Regions from separate parts of the Homo sapiens genome. Here region 1 is linked to region 2. The links are contacts of gene promoters, found by promoter capture Hi-C in human tissues and cell types (Jung and others, 2019). All regions are on one chromosome and are shown on one strand. Each heading gives the region's core, a stretch centred on a gene start or on the middle of the fragment in contact. The rest is flanking DNA. Distances are from core to core; before and after follow the strand shown.

Region 1 (2,901 bases), core at 18-2,517, 63 kb before region 2:
GAGTTGAGTGAGTACCTTTGGAGAGGGATGTGGGGTTGGAAGAGGGGCCAAAGGGGATGTTCAGTATCTGTAGTATCTGAGTTTATGCATTGTTAACATATTCAACATGTGATCTTTAAAATTAAAAATAAACAAAAATATTCCTTTGAAAAAATGTAATATTTTGGCTGGGCATAGTGATTCATGCCTGTAATCCCAGCACTTCAGGAAGACAAGGCAGGAGGATAACTTTGGTCCAGGAGTTTGAGACCAGCCTGGGCAACATAGGGAGACCCTATCTCTACAAAAAGATTTAAAAATTAGCAGGCATGGCAGTGCACCTCTAGGGCCTCAGCTACTCAGGAGGCTAAGATGGGAGGATCTCTTGAGCCCAGAAGGTCAAGGCTGCAGTGAGCTGTGATTGTGCCACTGCACTCTAGCCTGGACACAGAGCAAGACTCTGTAAAGAAGAAGGAGAGGGAGGGGGGAGGGGGAGGGGGAGGATATATATATATATATATATATATATAGTATTTTAAATAAAGAAAGGGTACCAAGGCACTAGTCTCGAATACATGACATGAATACTAGACATGAATCCTTGTCCTAGCTCTGCACTTGCTAGTAAGTCACCTCACTGCCCTGAGCTTCAGTGGCCACCTGTAAGAAAGGGAATAATCACTGCCCAGAGACTTAGATCATAAAATGAGATAATATATAGGACAATTTTTCAAAAACTTCACAGTGCACTAAAATTCCTTATAATTAAGATATATCCAAGTTGAATCAGGTGACTAAAGTTGGGAGGGAAAGCTAATAAATTGAATGATACAACCAGGGTCCAAATTATTTTAATGAATTAGATCAATGAGCATCAACCAATCAGAATAATTGAATAAGGATAAATATAAATTTTATTTATAGCTTCAAAAAATGAACTGCACAAGAGTAGGATATTAAAAAACAGTGTTAGAAGCATTATTGTGAAACAGTTTTAGAAGTAGTTTATAATGTAGATGCTGAAAATAAAACACAATTTCAAGCCATATTAAGAGAAAGCTTGGAGAGGTGCTCACAGTCACCGACTGGGTCATCCACCAAGATTCACTCATCCAAACTGGTTGACCAGTTAGAAACACTGAAATATGCATCATACAGTCTTACCTGAACTTCTCTACATTGAATGCCATACAACTTTGCATTTAATATGATTTAAATAATTTTCCCTGTTTTTTCCATTATACTGTAAGCTGCTTGAGGACAGGTGCCATGTATCATATTTCTTCATTCCCCATAAAATTTAGAGGAGATCTGGGCTCATAAAAGACATTTAGTAAATTGTAAACTTAATAAAACAATTTTTAAAGACTGATGATAATGCAGTTCCCATGCATCATTCTGAAGATCAGTAATTATATACATGGTTCCAAGAGTAGATTTGGAGGAGTTGAACCTGTACTGCCAGTTAATTTTGATTTTGATTTTTTTAGAGACAGGGTTTCACTCCGTTGCCCAGACTGGAGTGCAGTGGCATGATGATAGCTCACTCACTGCAGCCTCGAACTCCCAGGCTCAAGCAATCCTCCCACCTCAGCTTCCTGAGTATCTGTGGGCCACCATGCCCAGGTAATTTTTTTTCTAGAGATGGGCTCTCCCTATGTTTCCCAGACTGGTCTCAAACTCCTGGGTTCAAGTGATCCTCCTACCTCAGCCTCCCAAGTGCTGAGATTACAGGAATGAGCCACCATGCTTGGCCCCCAGTTCGTTTGTTTTGTTTTTGTTTTTGTTTTTTCACTCAGTTACCTCATTTTGACCTTGTCTTGTTGCTGCTGTTGCCTTTTGATTTTTTTATAACCAAAAAAGCTTCATTTTTTAAATTTAGCTTTCTTACTTTCTTGTGCCTTCAACACCTTTGAAACAATTTTCTCCTTCTTGATAAGGAAAGCACCTTTCAACTTGTCACAGGCACATTTGGCACACATGGGACACCTTAGGCCCTGCTGACATGTTTTTTCATACTGGCCAATCATAAGAACTTTAGGTCTCACAGCAGAAATCCCTCAAAGTCGGCCTGGGCACACACCACATGCAGATTTTGGTGCTTTTCCATCCTTCTTGGTGTAAAGGTAAACAATTCTATTACTAGGGGTTCAGTACAGCAGAGTTCTGTTAGAGGCTGTTGTAGGAAGCCTAAGACAATATGTCAAACACTGACATTCTGAGCGCTTCCAGACAGCATCCCTGGAAGAGCTGACCTTGTTTTCTTGAGATGTCTTTTCTTTAAAGCAGAGTGCAGTAATATTTCTATTGATTCATTACTGTATTATATTAGTAAAAGTGTTATGTGCAGAATATTTTCTGCTACAGGTGGCAGAAATGGCTGAGACATCTGTTAGAATGTGAGAAAATTATCCATCAATCAAAAGCTACTAGAGGAAATAGCTATTTAAGCATGGAAGCCCTTTATAGAGTTTTATAAGAATTCAGGCACATACAATCTTATTCTGCATTAAAAAAAATCCACTCAGGTAATTAATTTTTGCCCTCTCAGAGGTGTGGTATTGAGAAGGCAATATGTCAGCTGGAATATGTGCAAAGGTGGGACCGGTATCTATCATTTCCTCTTTCATTTCTATGAATCATTTCTATGATACCATTTCTATGAATTTCTATGAATCCTTTTGTTACCAGTGGCAAGTATCCGAGTTACTGGCAGTGAATCTGTATGGGTCTGAAGCAACCTCAATACTTGCCTCCTGAGAAGAAAGAATTCAACTGAGGGGCATAAGGCAGAAGGAGAGACTGAGGCAAGTCTTAGAGCAGGAGTAAAAGTTTATTTAAAAGCTTTACGGCCAGGCGAGGTGGCTCACACCTGTAATCCCAGCACTTTGGGAGGCCAAGGCAGGTGGATCACCTGAGGTC
Region 2 (2,803 bases), core at 226-2,725:
CTAAAGCCACAACAGTGGGCACTCAACAAACCTTGGCAGCAGAGTGAGTATGACAAGTTCAGAGGACAACGAGGAGATGGGCCTGCTTTGAGCGGAGGAAGTATGCTGATGTAGTTGAAGAGAAGTTAGATGGACAGGGTGGGCCCAGTAATGCAGGGCTTATAAGAAAGGCAGAGTTTGGATTTGATGTGGGTAGAAGAACGCTGAAGTTTCTGAGTAGAGGAAGAACATGAACACGAGGAAGACAATGTTTAAAATAAGGGAAAGAATATGACAATGGATTGCAGTGGAGACTACAGGGGAGAGCCTGGAGTCAGAGGACAACGAAAGGAGGTTTCCAGAATTTCTGAGTGAGGGAGGATGAAGGTCTGGCCTAGGAAAGTGGACATGTGAACGGAGGCGAGGGGATGCATATGAGATCTCAGCGGCTAAACTGCCAGGCTATGGGTACAAGCCGGCTCTGAGAAAAGGAGATAGGTTTGAAGGCAACCACCCTGAAAGAGGTAGATAAGCAGGCCCTGAAGCTGGGGGAAGTGAGGCTTAGTCTTGGGCATGTGAAATCTGAGTTGCTAAGTGGATCTGCTCTCCTTACTAGTTATGGCAGGAAAGGCGCCTTAATTAGGAGCATTTTAGGGAGTTAACCCTGTCAAAGAGGTAGCACACTTTCGAAGGCCAAGGGCTGGGAAGAAGGTGGTGAAGATGGCAATCCTGAACACAGAGGCTACTTGGGATGACAGGGATGGGAGGAGGGACACAGGTGATGAGTGAGTGGGCGGAAGAGAGGAGGGGGACACCGCTCCCCGGCCCGAGGGAAGGAGGGGATGAGGCTGCCGGCAAACGCTGGACTCAGGATCTTCCCAGCAGAGCAGGGCGGCCGCCACCTCACCCGGGACAATGCACTGTAGAACCCACAGCAGCCTTCCCCACGCCGGCCGGTCTTCCCGGCCCTGCGCCCACTTCCCGGTGCCCCGCTGCCCTGCTGCCGTGACCCCGGGATGCGGGGTCTCCTCTGCCTCCCTGGGCCTCCCCCTTCAGCCATGGGGGGCGGCTCCGCTTCCTAGGCCGCGGGACGTCTTTTCCTCCAGGTTCCAGTCCCGGACCTTCCCGGGCCCCCCACGGCACCGCCCACCTGGCCACCGCCGCAGCCCGCCCGGGCCGCCGCCAGCCAGCAGCCCCTCCCGGGGTGGGGTTTCCCTTCCCCCTACCCCTTTGTGGCAGGGACCCACGGGACACCCCCTCTGCCTCCGCTCCACGTCCAGGGGGCCGAAGGGGCGCCGGACGAGGGACCGTGCGGAGAGAGGGGTTCGGCGGCGCCAGGACTCCCGCGGGCTCCCCGGAGCAGGGGTCGGAAGGAGGGGGAGCGGGAGCCGCGGGGGCCGCTGCAGCAGAAGGGGGAGGAGAATGGGGAGGAGCTGGGGGGGCAGGCAGGCGGGGAAGGAGAGGTCTTAAGGGGCGGCGAGGGGAGGTCGCATTTCCTCCGAGGCTGGCGATCGGCGGAGCTCCCACCTCCGCTTACAGCTCGCTGCCGCCGTCCTGCCCCGCGCCCCCAGGAGACCTGGACCAGACCACGGTGAGCGCAGGGCGCACGGCGCGGAGGCCGGACTCTTCGGGCGGCCGGGGGTGCTTGGGCGGCCGGAGCGAGCCTGCGGGACCCGAGCAAGTTTCCCAGGTCAGCGCGGGGCCCGGCGCCTTCAGACTCGCTCTCTTCTCTCTTCCGCAGATGTGGAAACGCTGGCTCGCGCTCGCGCTCGCGCTGGTGGCGGTCGCCTGGGTCCGCGCCGAGGTAGGCGAGGGGCCGAGGAGTCCGAACTCGGTCCCCGGGGCCTCTTGGGTCTGCGCGCTGGGCGGGTGGGCGCGCGTCCTGGGGATGCTCTCCCGGGGTGGCGCTGGGAGTTTCGGTCCTTGGGGTGTGCTGGGGTGGAGCTGGGGCAGTAATGCTGCTTACGAAACTTAAATCTTTAAAGCAGGAAAAGTAGTTCGGGCCGTAAGCGGGAGCCCCGCCGCGGCTAACATGGAGGGAGAGCGGGGAGGAGGAGAGGGGACGGGCTGGGCCGACGGGGACGAGGCGGCGACTGGAGCAGCAGCGAGTTCAAAAAGGCGCCTCAGTTCCGTCCTTCACTTCAGAGGAGACTGAGAGTAGTTGGGGACTTTTCCCTCCCAAGTCTGTCTCCTGGGGGCGGGGGCAGAGGAATCGGGATTCTTCTTTTGGGGCAAAATTAATTTTCCTTTCTCTCTTTTAAAGTGAGATCATGATTCTCTGAAATGTATTTTCTTCTTTGTGAAGTGTCCTCGGGTTTTGTGTTATCATCTGGGCAATGTAACGGCCTTTTCCCAAGTGTTCCCTGTAACGTTGCGCAAGTGTAAGAGAAGATCCATTGCTCTGCTCTTTGGGGGCTCGAGTTTCCAGTTAAAGCATTTCAGCGCTTGTTTTTTTGTACCAATTTTTTCAACTCTAACGACCTTCCTGAGACACTACAAACAAACCAACAAACTCTTTGCTCAGAAGCCGCTCCATTAACTCAAAGGTTTATGGACAGAAAATAAACAATTCTAAATTCCCCGGGCTCCAGTCTCCAGGAAAGTGAGGTCAGAAACTAAACATTTGATAATTATGGCAGGAAATATGGAAGGAATTAAAAAGCATGAGGGAGAAGAAATGGAATGCACATTACAAAAGAAATAGCTCCCTGGTGGGTGGTTTATGCTCCCTGTTTGAATTTTTTCCTTCATATTACAGTTTAACCACACCCTTAGCATCGCAGCTTGACTCTGCCCAAAAAAGTCATAAATGCATACAAGGTCT

What was found. Contacts are between HindIII fragments. The study calls those that stand out against the background at their distance.
Region 1: a contact is called between a fragment that was not itself captured here and the fragment with the promoter of FSTL1 in region 2, in 1 of the 25 tissues and cell types used here (bladder).

What each region holds. Positions count from the first base shown.
Region 1 is chr3:120,512,145-120,515,045 of GRCh38, reverse strand. It overlaps the pseudogene RPL34P9. Among named protein-coding and RNA genes, the nearest start is that of FSTL1, 63 kb to the right of the region's middle. The HindIII fragment of the contact is 3,428 bases long and covers 1-2,901 here.
Region 2 is chr3:120,449,664-120,452,466 of GRCh38, reverse strand. FSTL1 (follistatin like 1) reads left to right here and starts at 1,475. Exons shown (of 11, transcript NM_007085.5): 1 at 1,475-1,570; 2 at 1,721-1,783. The coding sequence starts at 1,721. It overlaps LOC124900546 (a long non-coding RNA gene), which reads left to right and starts at 1,813. Exons shown (of 2, transcript XR_007096030.1): 1 at 1,813-2,803. The HindIII fragment of the contact is 21,476 bases long and covers 1-2,803 here.